2 separate regions of the Homo sapiens genome follow, and region 1 is linked to region 2. The links are contacts of gene promoters, found by promoter capture Hi-C in human tissues and cell types (Jung and others, 2019). All regions are on one chromosome and are shown on one strand. The core of a region is centred on a gene start or on the middle of the fragment in contact, and the rest is flanking DNA. Distances in the headings are between cores, read along the strand shown.

The links. Contacts are between HindIII fragments. The study calls those that stand out against the background at their distance.
Region 1: a contact is called between a fragment that was not itself captured here and the fragment with the promoter of GRHPR in region 2, in 1 of the 25 tissues and cell types used here (lymphoblastoid cells).

Annotation. Positions count from the first base shown.
Region 1 is chr9:36,777,510-36,784,318 of GRCh38, forward strand. It overlaps LOC105376030 (a long non-coding RNA gene), which reads left to right and starts at 2,229. Exons shown (of 3, transcript XR_001746662.3): 1 at 2,229-2,368; 2 at 3,961-4,384. The HindIII fragment of the contact is 9,066 bases long and covers 107-6,809 here.
Region 2 is chr9:37,417,599-37,424,111 of GRCh38, forward strand. It overlaps GRHPR (glyoxylate and hydroxypyruvate reductase), which reads left to right and starts at 5,098. Exons shown (of 9, transcript NM_012203.2): 1 at 5,098-5,235. The coding sequence starts at 5,153. It overlaps LOC105376035 (a long non-coding RNA gene), which reads left to right. Exons shown (of 4, transcript XR_007061479.1): 4 at 1-1,910. RefSeq lists enhancers at 4,444-5,069, 5,070-5,695 and a silencer at 4,910-5,059. The HindIII fragment of the contact is 13,627 bases long and covers 1-6,513 here.

The DNA of each region.
Region 1 (6,809 bases), core at 3,390-5,889, 640 kb before region 2:
TCTCATTGTTCAATTCCCACCTATGAGTGAGAATATGCGGTGTTTGGTTTTTTTGTTCTTGCAATAGTTTACTGAGAATGATGATTTCCAATTTCATCCATGTCCCTACAAAGGACATGAACTCATCATTTTTTATGGCTGCATAGTATTCCATGGTGTATATGTGCCACATTTTCTTTTTTTTTTTTTTTGAGACGGAGTCTCGCTCTGTCGCCCAGGCCGGGCTGCGGACTGCAGTGGCGCAATCTCGGCTCACTGCAAGCTCCGCTTCCCGGGTTCACGCCATTCTCCTGCCTCAGCCTCCCGAGTAGCTGGGACTACAGGTGCCCGCCACTGCGCCCGGCTAATTTTTTGTATTTTTAGTAGAGACGGGGTTTCACCTTGTTAGCCAGGATGGTCTCGATCTCCTGACCTCATGATCCACCCGCCTCGGCCTCCCAAAGTGCTGGGATTACAGGCGTGAGCCACCACGCCCGGCCATGTGCCACATTTTCTTAATCAACAACCCAGTAGTTTTTCTATGGATATTAGCAAATTTAGTTTGTTTGTTTTCCTTGAGACAGGGTCTTGCTCTGTCACCCAGGCTGGAGTGCAGTGGCTTGATCATGGCTCACTGCAGCCTCAATCTCTTGGGCCCAAGCAATCCTCCCACCTCAGCCTCTGGAGTACTACTACTCTAGGACTACAGATGTGCACCACCACGCCCAGCTGCAAATTTAGTTTTAAACATTTTGGGATAATGATCTACAAATTATCCACACTGTTTTGAAAGCTGATTGTCCCCTGGCCCCTTCCCCATATGATAAATCACAAATACTTTTCAATGACTAAAGAATATTCTCTGAAAAAATATACAGTAGGTTAGTCAGTTAACCAGTCCCTAATTTTGGACATTTATAATTATTATAAGCAATACTGCACATCCCTGACTATTTACTAAGAATATATTCAGAGAAGTAGAATTACGGGGTCGAATCATATAAACATTTTGATACATTCTGCTAAATTGGCTTTTCAAATAATTTTACTCATTTCCATTTCCATAAGCAGCATATGAGAATATCAATATTGATTCATCTTAGTGAGCACTGGGTATTATCACATTTGTAACATATCGTCTCTTATGAATGAATGAAGGAATGAATGACAAGAGCCTTTCCTGGGAGGGATAATGTCTCCTTGTGGTGCTGCTGTCACACTGCCACTCTCCTTGTGACCAGCTCAGATCCCCTGCCTGTGCGAATGTGTGTGTTGCTCAGGAGGGGAGGTGGGGAGGTGAGGATAGGGGGCTGACTTCCAGACTATTTCAGTGTGGCTTTTAGATCTCAGCCAATTCTGTGAAGTGACCGTGCAGCCAAACTAATCACCCTTCCTTGGGCCAGGTTAATGTGCTCCTCTCTTGCTGCTTGGATCAATACCGTACTTACTGCAGATTAGCTAAATGAGCCAGTGCAGCTGGGAATGAGCTTCTAGAGACAATTACTATGGAAAATGCAGCCATATTTTAGTGGGCACCACATGCATGAGGCTCTTTGCAAATATCAATATATATTTGCTTGCTTGACAGAAATAGATCAAACCTAAGTCCGGAGATTAATCCAGATGATCAGAGTGTACATGCTTCTTGTTGTGCATAGTGTGGCGGAACCTTGACCTTTTCCATGGTTGCTATTGTTCGGATTGTGCTGGAAGTAACCCAAAATGGGCTGGTGGTTGGCCCATGCGATTGTCTGCAAGTTTATTGCAGGTACAAATAGTAATGAGGCTGCTTATGGTGATAATCGTTTATCTCACTTGATCTTCACCACAACCTTGAAATGCTCACTAAATGTTTATTTAATAAATTCATTCATTCCCTTAACAAATAATGACTGAGTAGCCTTTATGTACAGGGCCTTGTTCTAGGTGCTGGAGAAACAGTAGTGAAGAAGACAGGGCCTTTTTCAGTGGAACTTGCAGCCTGGTGGGACAAGAGTGACAATAAACAAGGAAGCCATGCGCATGGAGAAGTAATCACGCATTGAGGCAAGTGCTGCAAAGGAAGACGGTGCCGTGTAAAGAAAATATATAGGGTGGTGGTGCTTAATTTCAATAGGGGGGTTGGAGAAGTCTTCTCCGAGGGGGTGACATTGAGGTTGAGATTTGATGGATGAGAAGGAGCGAGCTAGGACAAGAGAAGAAGAGAGACAGTGTTCTCAGTGGAGGGACCTTCTTGTGCAGAGGGCGTGAGCTGGAACCAGACCAGCAGTTCCAAGGAACGGAGAAGCTGCCGTGCAGGGCTGGAGTGTGATGAGCAAGGCAGGAACAGCACATCATCCGGTGAGAGAAGCAGACAGCGGCCAGGCCACACAGAGCCCTGCAGGGCACGGTAAGGACTTTGGATTTTATTTTAAGGGAGAAGGGAAGCAGTCAAAGGACTTTATACAGGGAAGGGATATGATCCAATTTACATTTTCAAAAGGTCACTCTAGGTCCTGGGTACGGAATGAGGAATATTCTATATCCATTTTGATAGCTAGTTCCAGAAAAATAACAATTATAAGTAGACAGGCTGGCAAGGTGGGGGGAGCCTTGGGTAGATCCTCCGAATGGCTCTTTGGGAGGTGAGGATCTGCCACGGCTGCGGGCTCTGGTTCTGAATGTTGTCTGATTTCACAACCCATCTCACAGTTTCTCTTTCCCGTAGGAGGGCTTGTCATTGGCAGATTCTTAGCCCAGTAAAAAGGAGAGGCAGGGGATGGAGAGGAGAGAGCTGGGGATCTTTGATGTCACCCCCACGATCCCAGCCCTGGCTGTCCTGGTGTGCTGGCTTTCATCCCAAAGAACAGCACGGAGCCCCCCCTCACTGCATGCGGGGGCCCCTCTGGCACAGTGGGGAGGTGCCCCGAAGACAGCTCCTCCTCACTCAGTCACTGGGGCGCTGGTGGCCAGGGCTCAGAGAGCAGGAGACCTGAAGATTGGGTGGCTGGTCGGCCTGGACATTTAGACTGTGCCTGGGTTCTTCCGATTGCTCCCCCACAGTCCTCCAGCCACAATCCATTTCCTGTCCTTGGGCTCAGTAACCTCCCCCTTGCTTTTCCCCCTGCAGTCTTCTTGGTTCTCACCCATACGTTCCTTACTCCTTCACACAAGCATCAGCTAAAAAAAGCCAGCAGCCTTTTGTGTACGTTTGAAAACTGGTGACCCTCCTAGGTAAAGAAGTTTGGGGTGTGGGGAATGAAAGGAGCATGATAGGAAAGATTCCCATTCCCTTCAGTCGTTGAAAAGTGTAACATTCAGGATGTGTTTAAATGTTCAAAGAGTCAGCACTAAACAACCAGGAATAGAATGTGTATCTTCCAAACTACTGGGGAAAGAGACCGGAGGAAGCATAACCCAACAGATGGCTGAGTGACTTCTAAGATAGAAGAGGCAGAGGGAGGAAAAGCAGGACAGAGAAGAAGTTGAATTCCCTTCCATAAACAGGTTGAACATTCTTCTCTGCCCGCAGGAAACCTGGGCTGTGTTCTTTCAGGTGGTGGGTGGAGGGGGAGGCATGGCCGGAATCCCCAGTGCCCGTGGGTGCCAGCCAATGACTTACACATCTGCTTTCCTCAGTTTTAAGTTCCCTGGGGGCAAGGCCAGACCTAGTTCATCTGTCTATGTCCCCAGAACAGGGAGGTTCCATTGCTGGAGAAGAATAAGAGCACATGTTGTTATTACCCAACACAAGCTCTGCCCATCTTTTCGGCTAATGCCATCTTATGAAAGGGGTGAATTCAGATCCTACTCTGAAGGCAAAGAAATGGGGCAAAGTGGACCATGAAGCTCAGAGACCCACATGAATGTGAACCACGGTTGAGACCAGCAGACAGAAAGCTCTGAGTGTCTGGGGATGGGAAGCTTTCTTATTCCACTGACTTCTCTCGCCATTTCTTCTCTTTGTCTTCCTCTGCTTCCTCCTCCCTCTTTTGACTTCAGCTGGCAGAGTTGCTTGAAATGAAGCCGTTCCCTGAAAAGCACACATGAATTTCCCCTGCGGAAAATTCAAACAGACACACTTGAGGATTTCCACTAAATTCTCTCTGGCCCCCAGAGCACTGGGGAAGCATGTGAGACCTGTGCCATCCCGGAACTGTGGCGACAATGGTAGTTAACGTCCATCATCTGCAGGCACCTTCAGGATGTGGAGCATGCAGAGATGACTCACGCCCACACCGGTGACCTCCAACACACCAGGGAAGGCAGGAAAAGGCTGTGTGCCAGGATCTTGTTCTGGGCTAGAAAAGTATGCCTGTTCGTTACCCGACCTTTGCTAAGTACACCAACTAATGGAGCGAGAGACATGAAAGATCTTCACAGGCCATGTGGAAATGTAATTCAAACCCAGCCCGAGGAGGTCATAGTACGTGAGTTTAATTTTCATCCTGCCTTTCCTTACAATGCTAACCTTTGCCTTACAAAAAAAGTTGTTTAAAAAGAGATAAGTCAGTGTCTATTTGGCATTTGAAGGAGTTTTAATCTGAGCAACCCTGTTGGAAGTGTTTCCATTTCCTTAGGATTCAGTTCAGGAAACCGTGAATTGATCCTTTACATCAGAAGTAATTGTTCTGGGTTTGAAATCTATCAAGTATTGGAAATTCAAATTAAGCCATTTGTGAAGTTCTGTTTAATGAGGGTTATCAAGTCGCTTCTTAATGGCATCTGTCGGACTCCTAGCCCCCTCTGCTATTCATACAGGCCCAAGGCCTCCCATTATATGCCCCATGATGCAGCCGGATGGGCCCCCTCTTTGATCTGGGCATCTCTGCCCTCATACGTGGTGGGCAGTCCCACCCTCCCCCACTGCTCTGGGAGCTGTTCCGTCCCAGCTCCTCCATGTCTTATCTTTCTCTTCCACTTTCTGTTTTCTCTCCTGTCCTCTCTTCCCATCATCCCATTGCTTCTGTTTTCTGTCTTCCTTCCCAGCCTCCTGCCTCTTCCTTCTTTGTCACGCATTCACCCTGTCTCTCATCAACACTAAGGCCAGCACGTGTCACCAAACTGCCTCCCATCAGAGGCCTCTGACATTCTCCAAGTCCTCCTTCAACATGTTGCATTCTGACAGTATGAGATCCTGAATTATAAACATTTACCACCCACTATTTATTAATCGCACTTTTATCTTTTGGCCTGAAACTTTGTCTCTCACCTGCTACCAGCTGCCTCCAGAGCATGGGGGTTGGGAGCTGATGGCAAGTTCCCTGTGTCTTTTCTGCAGCCCTCTGGGTTTTACATAATGTGATTTTGTGTTCTCGCACAAAATCATGGTGCTCCAGACTGAAAAATTCTACTCATCAGGAAATCTCCCTCCCCTTAGAGCGCTAGAACTGTCTTTTTGTGGGACTTGGTCAGCCCTGAGATTTCTTACAGGAGATAAAGGGCCGAATTGGAGAGATGCTTGGAGAGAAATGGTTGACAGGGCCTGGAGAGCATGTCGTGGAGGAAGACATTGACAAGGTCTCCTCCTCGTCCTCTTTCCTCCTTCCATCTCTCCCAGTCAACCCCCAAGCCTTGGTTGATGCCCAGTTCCCTAAGGTCACTCATGAACTTCTCATGTGTTTGTTGTCATTCCTCTTTCCTTTAATTCTCTCTGCTTCAAACTTGGGAGAAAGATTTTCTCTGATGAATTTTTCAAGAAACTCCCTTCAGGCTCCCTGCTGCCCTTTCCAGCCATTCTCTGCTTTTGGATCCCTGAGGACCATCCAGAGAGCCCGTGTGTCATTTTTAAGAAACTCTGTTACAAGGCAAGAAATAAAGGACATCCTCAAATGGTAGTGCACCCAGGGGAGGTGTGGAGAGGGTGGAATGACGAAGCGCCCGAGACATATGCTGTACGGCAAGGTCCACAGAGCTGGGATGCCCATGGGGTGGGGTGGGGTGGTTAGAGACGGAAAACCAAATCAAAAGAATTTAAGCAATAACCTGGCGGGGCACGGTGGCTCACACCTGTAATCCCAGCACTTTGGGAGGCCAAGGTGGGTGGATCACTTGAGGTCAGGAGTTTGAGACCCACCTGTGCAACACAGTGAGACCCAATCTGTACAAAAAATACAAAAATTAGCCAGGTGTGATGGTGGGTGCCTGTGGTCCCAGCTACTTGGGAGGCCGAGGCTGGAGGATCACTTGAGTCTGGGAAGTGGAGGATGCAGGGCCATGGTCACGCCACTGCACTCTAGCCTGAGTGAAAGAATGATAGCCTGTCTCAAAAAAATAAAAAACCAAAACCAAAATAAAACCCCTGAACCCCCAAAATGGAAGGAAAAATGAATATCTATTGACTCCATCGCTGACATTGCACCTGTGGGTTCTAGGGCTTTACCAGCACCATCAGGACACCCCAGTCTCTTGAGAGACAATATTTTCTAGTAGTCATCACTGCCTGGACTTGGAGCCTGGCCCCACCTCTTATGAACTCTGTGACCTTGGGCAAGTGACTTCACATCTTTGTGCCTCAGTTTCCTCACTTAGAAAACGAGGATAAAAGTAGCACTACCTTCTAGGGCTACTGTGACTATTAGGTGAGTGACTATTTGTAACGTTCTTAGATCAGTGTGATGCACACAGTAGGTACAAAGTGAGTGTAAGCAACTGGATGTGTTTCCTAGGCCTCCATAACAAAGTGCCATGAACTAGGGGCTTAGAACAACAGAATGTATTGTCTCATACAGTTCTGGAGCTGGAAGTCTGAAATCAAGGTGCTGGCAGGGCCACGCTCCCTCTGGAATCTGTAGAGATCCATGCTTGCCTCCTCCTGGCTTCTGGTGGTTTGCCGGAATTCTTTGGCATGC
Region 2 (6,513 bases), core at 3,848-6,347:
GCCACACAATGGGTATAACACTTACCCTTGAGGGTTACTGCGATTGTCACACAAGGCAGCATTTGCATGGGCCCTGGGCCATGCTAGACATTCATCAGGCACTGAAGCTATGGGGGAGAGAAGTGAGGGGCCCAGGCTCTGGAGCCAGTGGGTTTAAACTCCACTCTACCACTAACAAGACATTATTAAAAACTTCTGTGCGCCTCCATTTCCTCATCTGTAACATGGGGATAATAATAGCACCTGCCTCCTGGCTTGTTGAGAGGATATATGTAGTGCTTACAACAGCACAACACACATATATGGGTACTTCACAAATACAAATCCATTCAAGGAAACCAACCCTGGTGCCCTGGGATGGCCGTTGGTCAGAGACACAGAAGCCGAAGCCAGCTTAGGACAAGCGGAGGGGCCCAGGCCTGCCCCTCGGTTCCGGGGGCCTCACTTCTGTTCCAGGGCTGTTCAGTTACCTGCTCCTAGGCCTGGGAGGCCCAGTGGACAACAGAGTGACCTCTTCTCCACTGATTTGATCTGAATACATTCTGCCCCATGAGGGCCCAAATGAGGGAACTGGTATGATATTCACAGAGAGGTGACATCACCCGCTGAAGATCACACAGCAAGTCCCTGGGCCACCTGGATCCCGGCCACAGCTCCACCCTGCTACCTCCCTCTCTTAAGTAACACATTAATAAGTGTCTTACCCTCAGGCCATTATCTGTGTTCCCAGGCCAGGGAACATTTCTGAAACACATCAAACATTGACAAAAAGAGGTGTTTTTCTGTCCCCAGGCCAGGCCCTTCGGCCTCTGTTAACCAGTGAGTGTTCTCTGTTAATCCTGAGCCCAGCTCCTCCTACACACAAGTACAAACAAGGGCATTGGGCATGGGAGAAACCTGTCCACCAGGGCCAGGAGGGGACACGGAAGGTTAATGGGTCCCCTCCCCCAAAGCAATGCACACAGCTGGGGCTCAATAAGTGCTACTGGGTGGTAGGAACAGAGCCAGCTGAGGGCACAGGAAGAGGGATCTGCTAAGCAGAGGAGGCCTGACCTGGGCTTCATTGGGTAAAACCAGTCATCATAATAAGTAGCTGGCATTTCGGGAGCTCTTAGTTAGTTCCAGACACTGCCCTGAGCACTGGACATGGTCACTCACTAACGTTTCCATGTTTCAGTATCTGTGGGGTGCATATGTTGCTCTCCCCAGTCTACAGACAGGAAGCTGCAGGCAAGAAAGATGAAGTCATTTGCTTAAGTCACACCATTACCAAGAGGCCGAGCTTGGATTCACACCCAGCACCCTGGCTCCAGACCCAAGCTCTCAACCACAATACAAGCCTGTGGAGTGGGAGGGGTGAAATACATGAGTGAGGGGTGACTTCTAGGTATTGGCTTGGGGTGGCTGTCCCTTTGATGGATATGTGGGAGGAGCGCAGGTGTCAGGTGAGGTATTGGGGAGAAGGTGGATGAATTGGGTTTGGCAGGTGTTGAGTTCCAGATACCTGAGGATGCTCAGGTGGAGGAGGCAGGAGAGAGGCGGCTTATGGCTCTGAAGCTGGGTGATGGGGGCTGGAGCTGCTCACTCCAGAGTCATCAGCGTAGAAGCGCAGCCTGGGAGACACCTGAGCGATGAAGGGGCAAGGCCACAGCTAAGGCAGGGGAATTGATATTTAGTGTGCAAGGATTCAAAATGACAGCAAGAAAAGAAGTGTTTTAGAGACTATTACTATTATTATTATTGAGACAGAGTCTTACTCTGTTGCCCAGGCTGGAGTGCAGGGGTGCAATCATAGCTTACTGTAACCTTGAACTCCTGGGCTGAAGTGATACTCCGGCCTCCGCCTTCCGGGACTCAGCCACCACAACCAGCTAACTTTTAAATTTTTCTGTAAAGACAGGGTGGGGGAGCCTCCCTATATTGCCCATGCTGGTCTTGAACTCCTGACCTCAAGCAGTCCTCCAGCTTTAGCCTCCCAAAGTGCTGGGATTACAGGAATCAGCCACCAAACCTGGCCAAATGCTATTTTTATTTATTTTATTTTATTTATTTATTTTTGAGACGGAGTTTTTTTGTTTGTTTGTCTTTTGTTTTCTTTTGAGACAGAGTCTCGCTCTGTCGCCCAGGCTGGAGTAAAGTGGCGTGATCTTGGCTCACTGCAACCTCCACCCCCTGGGTTCAAGCAATTTCCTGCCTCAGCCTCCTGAGTAGTTTGGATTATGGGCACCTGCCACCAAGCCTGGCTAATTTTTTTGTATTTTTAGTAGAGACGGGGCTTTACCATGTTGGCCAGGCTGGTCTCGAACTCCTAAGCTCAGGTGATCCACCCGCCTCAGCCTCCCAAAGTGCTGGGATTACAGGCGTGAGCCACCGCGCCTGGCCAAGTGCTATTTTTAAATGAATGTTTTCTTTATTTTGAGGGTAGATAATAAATGCACAAGATGCAAATTCCCAAAGGGTGAAAATTGTGTCTCTCTTACTCTGTCCCAGTTCACCAGGTCTTCTCCCCAGAGGCAGCCACTGTCCCCAGTTTCTTCTTTTTTCTTTTTCTTTTTTTTTTTTTTTTTTTGTTAGAGACAGGGTCTCACTCACTCTGTTGCCCAGGCTGGAGTGCAGTGGCACAATCACAGTTCACTGCAGCCCCAGCCTCCCAGGCTCAAGCAATCTTCCTACTTCAGTTTCCCAAGTAACTGGGACTACAGGTGTACACCACTACGCCTGGGTAATTAAAAAAAAATTTTTTTTTGTAGAGACAGGGTCTCGCTATGTTGCCCAGGCTTGTCTCAAACTCCTGGGCTCAAGCAATGCTCCTGACTCAGCCTCCCAAAGTGCTGGAATTACAAACCATGAGCCACTGCACCTGGCCTGTTCCCAAAGAAACAAGAAAGATGTTTCTTGTACATCTTTCCAGGGATATTTAACACACAGAAATAGGTGGCCAGGTGTCGTGGCTCACGCCTGTAATCCCAGAACTTTGGAAGTGGATCGCTTTGAGCCCAGGTGTTCGAGACAAGCCCGGTCAACATAATGAAACCCTGTCTCTACAAAAAATACAAAACATTAGCTGGGTGTGGTGGCACATGCCTGTGGTCCCAGCTGCTCAGGAGGCTGAGGCGGGAGGATCATTGGAGCACAGGAGGTAGAGGTTGCAGTGAGCCAAGATTGCACCATTGCCCTCCAGCCTAGATAACAGACTGAGATCCTGTCTCAAAAAAAAAAAAAAAAAAAAAAAAAAAAGAATAGGCATATACTTTCTCCTATAAATGGTAACATATGCACTTTGCATCACCCTGTTTTCTCACTGGACAGTACATCTTGGAGATCATTCCACACTGGTACGCACAGAGCTGCCTCACTCTTTTGATTGATGCAGAGTATTTCACTGTGGGAATGAAGCATACGTAATGAACAGTCCCCTATGAGTGGACCTTTAGGTTGTTTCCCATATTTTACTATTCCAACAATGCCACAATGAAGAGCCTTTGGCAGATGGCATTTTGCACATGTGTGAACGCGTCTGTAAGGTAAATTCCTAAAAGCAAAATTTCTGGGTCAAAAAAGATGTGCAGTCTAAACTTTGATAGCTACTGCCAAACTTTCTTATTGAAGTTGCTGATTTACACTCCTACCAGCAACGTATGAAAGCACCTGGTTCCCCAATGTATTATTTTTTACATTGGTATCTTGCTGTAATTTTAATATGCAGTTCTTTTGTGAGTCAAGTTGAGCACTTTTCATCTTTTGTTTTTTTTTTTTGTTTGTTTTGTTTTTTTTTGTTTTAGATGGAGTCTCACTCTGTCACCCAGGCTGGAGTGTAGTGATGGGATCTCGGCTCACTGCAACCTCCATCTCCTGGACTCATGAGCAATTCTCCTGCCTCAGCCTCCTGAGTAGCTGGAATTACAGGCATGTGCCACCATGCCCACCTAATGTTTGTATATTCAGTACAGACAGAGTTTCACCATGTTGGCCAGGCTGGTCTCAAACTTCTGACCTCAAGTGATCCGCCTGCCTCGGCCTCCGAAAGTGCTGGGATTACAGGCATGAGCCACCGCGCCCAGCCATACATTTAAAGGCCATTTTCTTTTCTATAAACTGTCCATTGATATCCTTTGCTTATTCAGATAAGCTGGGCATCTTTGTCTTAGGAACTATTTGTGCAATAAGTAAATCAACCCCTTGTCTATAAAATGAGTTGCAAATATATGGTATTTTTCCCGGTTTGTTGTCTTATGATTTTGTTAATTTTTTTTTTTTAAGATAAACATAAGCCTGGTATTTCCAGGCACCTGGTATTTCCAGGCAGTCTCCCATACAAGCCCTAACCAGGCTTAGTTTCCAAGATCAGATGCATTCAGGATGGTACGGTTAATTTTTCAATGGAGAATTAGTTGTACTCTTATGGCTTCTGGCTTTCGCACACATAGCGTATCACTTATTTATTGCTGCATAAAGAATTACTCCAAAATTGAACGGCTTAGAGCAACAGCAGTCAGTGCATTATCATCTCTTATGGTTCCGGGGTTGACTGGGCTCAGCCAGTGATTCTCCTAAAGGCTCTTTCTTGCAGTTTTAGCTGTAGTCAGGTGGGAGTTGGCCTGGAGTCACCCGAAGGCTTCCTCACTCATACCTCTGGTCATTGACGGTGGCTGTGAGCCGGGCCCCTGGCTGTGCTGTTGGCCTGAACACCTACACGTGACCTCTCTGTGTGTCCTGGACTTCCTCACAGCCTGGAACCTGGGTTTCTACCCTGGGCCAACCCAAGAGACAGAAAAAGTGGGGGCTTTCAGTCTCTTAAGGCCTGAGCCTGTGGAAACAGGACCCTGAGCGTGTAGAAAAAGCAGGGCTCCCATGAGGCCTTGGACGGGATACTGCCCCCTCTCCCCCGGGGCCCTGATTCCCCAGTGGCACGAGGCGCACCCCCCCACACACACACAAGGACACTGTGTAGGGTCACTGTTACTGTCACTCCCCGAGCACGCACAGTCACCGCTCAGCCGCAACCCGGCGCTCCCTCTCGCGAAGCCACACCCCCTGCGCACGCCGCGCGCGACGTCTCTCCCGCCCACTCCAGCCTGGCCCCGCCCCGGCCCAGCTACATTCCCGGGCCAGCTTCTGTACTGCCAGGTCCGGGTCGGCGGCTGCACTGCGGATGAGACCGGTGCGACTCATGAAGGTGTTCGTCACCCGCAGGATACCCGCCGAGGGTAGGGTCGCGCTCGCCCGGGCGGCAGAGTAAGAGCCTCGCGCGCCGTGGAGGAGGGAGCAGGGCGGTCCCAGGGACCGGAGAGCCGGGCGGGGCGTTTGGGCCTTGTGGCCGGCTGGGGCAGGCTTGGAGTTTTGGGGAGTCTCGGAGAAAGTTCTCTGGGGCCCAGTTCTCCTCTTAAGACGACGCTGGGACCTGCAGTTCCGGCTTTGGAGAGGGGAGATTGCCCCTGAGGCAAGGTCCAGGCTAATTCTCCACGCTCCCACAGGACATGTGGGGTCAGGGACATGGCGGTCACTGACCAGGCCCTTGGACGTTTGGCAGGGGGCTTTGATGACTCTTCTTCTTTATATTTACTTATCTTTTTTTTTTTTTTTTTGAGACAGTCTCACTCTGCTGCACAGGCTGGAGTGCAGTGGCTCGATCGATCGTGGCTTACTGCAGCCTCGACTTCTTGGGCCCAATCAGTTCTCCCACCTGAGCCTCCCGAGTAGCTGGGACTACAGGCGCAAACAATCACTACCGGCTAATTTTCTGATTTTTTTTTTGTAGAGATGGGGGTCTCACTCTGTTGCTCAGGCTGGTCTCAAATTCCTGGGCTCAAGCAATCCTCTTGCCTCAGCCTCCCAAAGTGTTGGGATTACAGGTGTTAGTCACCATGACTGGCCTGAGGACCCTTTAATTTTTAAGACAGGGTCTCACTCTCATCCAGGCTGGAGTGCAGTGGCACCATTATACCTCACTGCAGCCTCAACCTCCTGGACTCAAGAGATACTTCCACCTCAGCCTCCCAAGTAGCTGGGACTACTACAGGCATGCACTACCATGCCTGGCTAATTTTTTATTTTTTTCAAAGACGAGGGTCTCACTGTGTTGCCCAGGCTGGTCCTGAACTCCTGTACGAAGGGATCCTCCCACCTCAGCCTCCCAAAGTGCTGGGATTACAGGCATGAACCACTGCACCTGGCCCACCCTTGCTAAATGGAACCCTTTTTGTGGGCCAACCTTGCCAGGTGCTTCATATACATAAACTTTTAATCCTGGTAGCACTGTGAAGTCAGTATTATAATTCCCATTGCACAGATTAAAAACTGGAGGCTGGACTTAGGGTTAAGTTTCTTCCCAAAGCCATGCAGCTCCCAGGTGGAGGAGCTGGGGCTTGTACTCAGAAGTGTCTGACTGCTGTCTGATCACTGCATTTGATCAGGTTTGTGTTTCCAATGTTAGATAGGAAGAGGATGCAATCCAGCCTCAGCAGCCAGTTCTAGGGGCATATGAGATTTTCAAATTTTGTTCACTGCAACAAA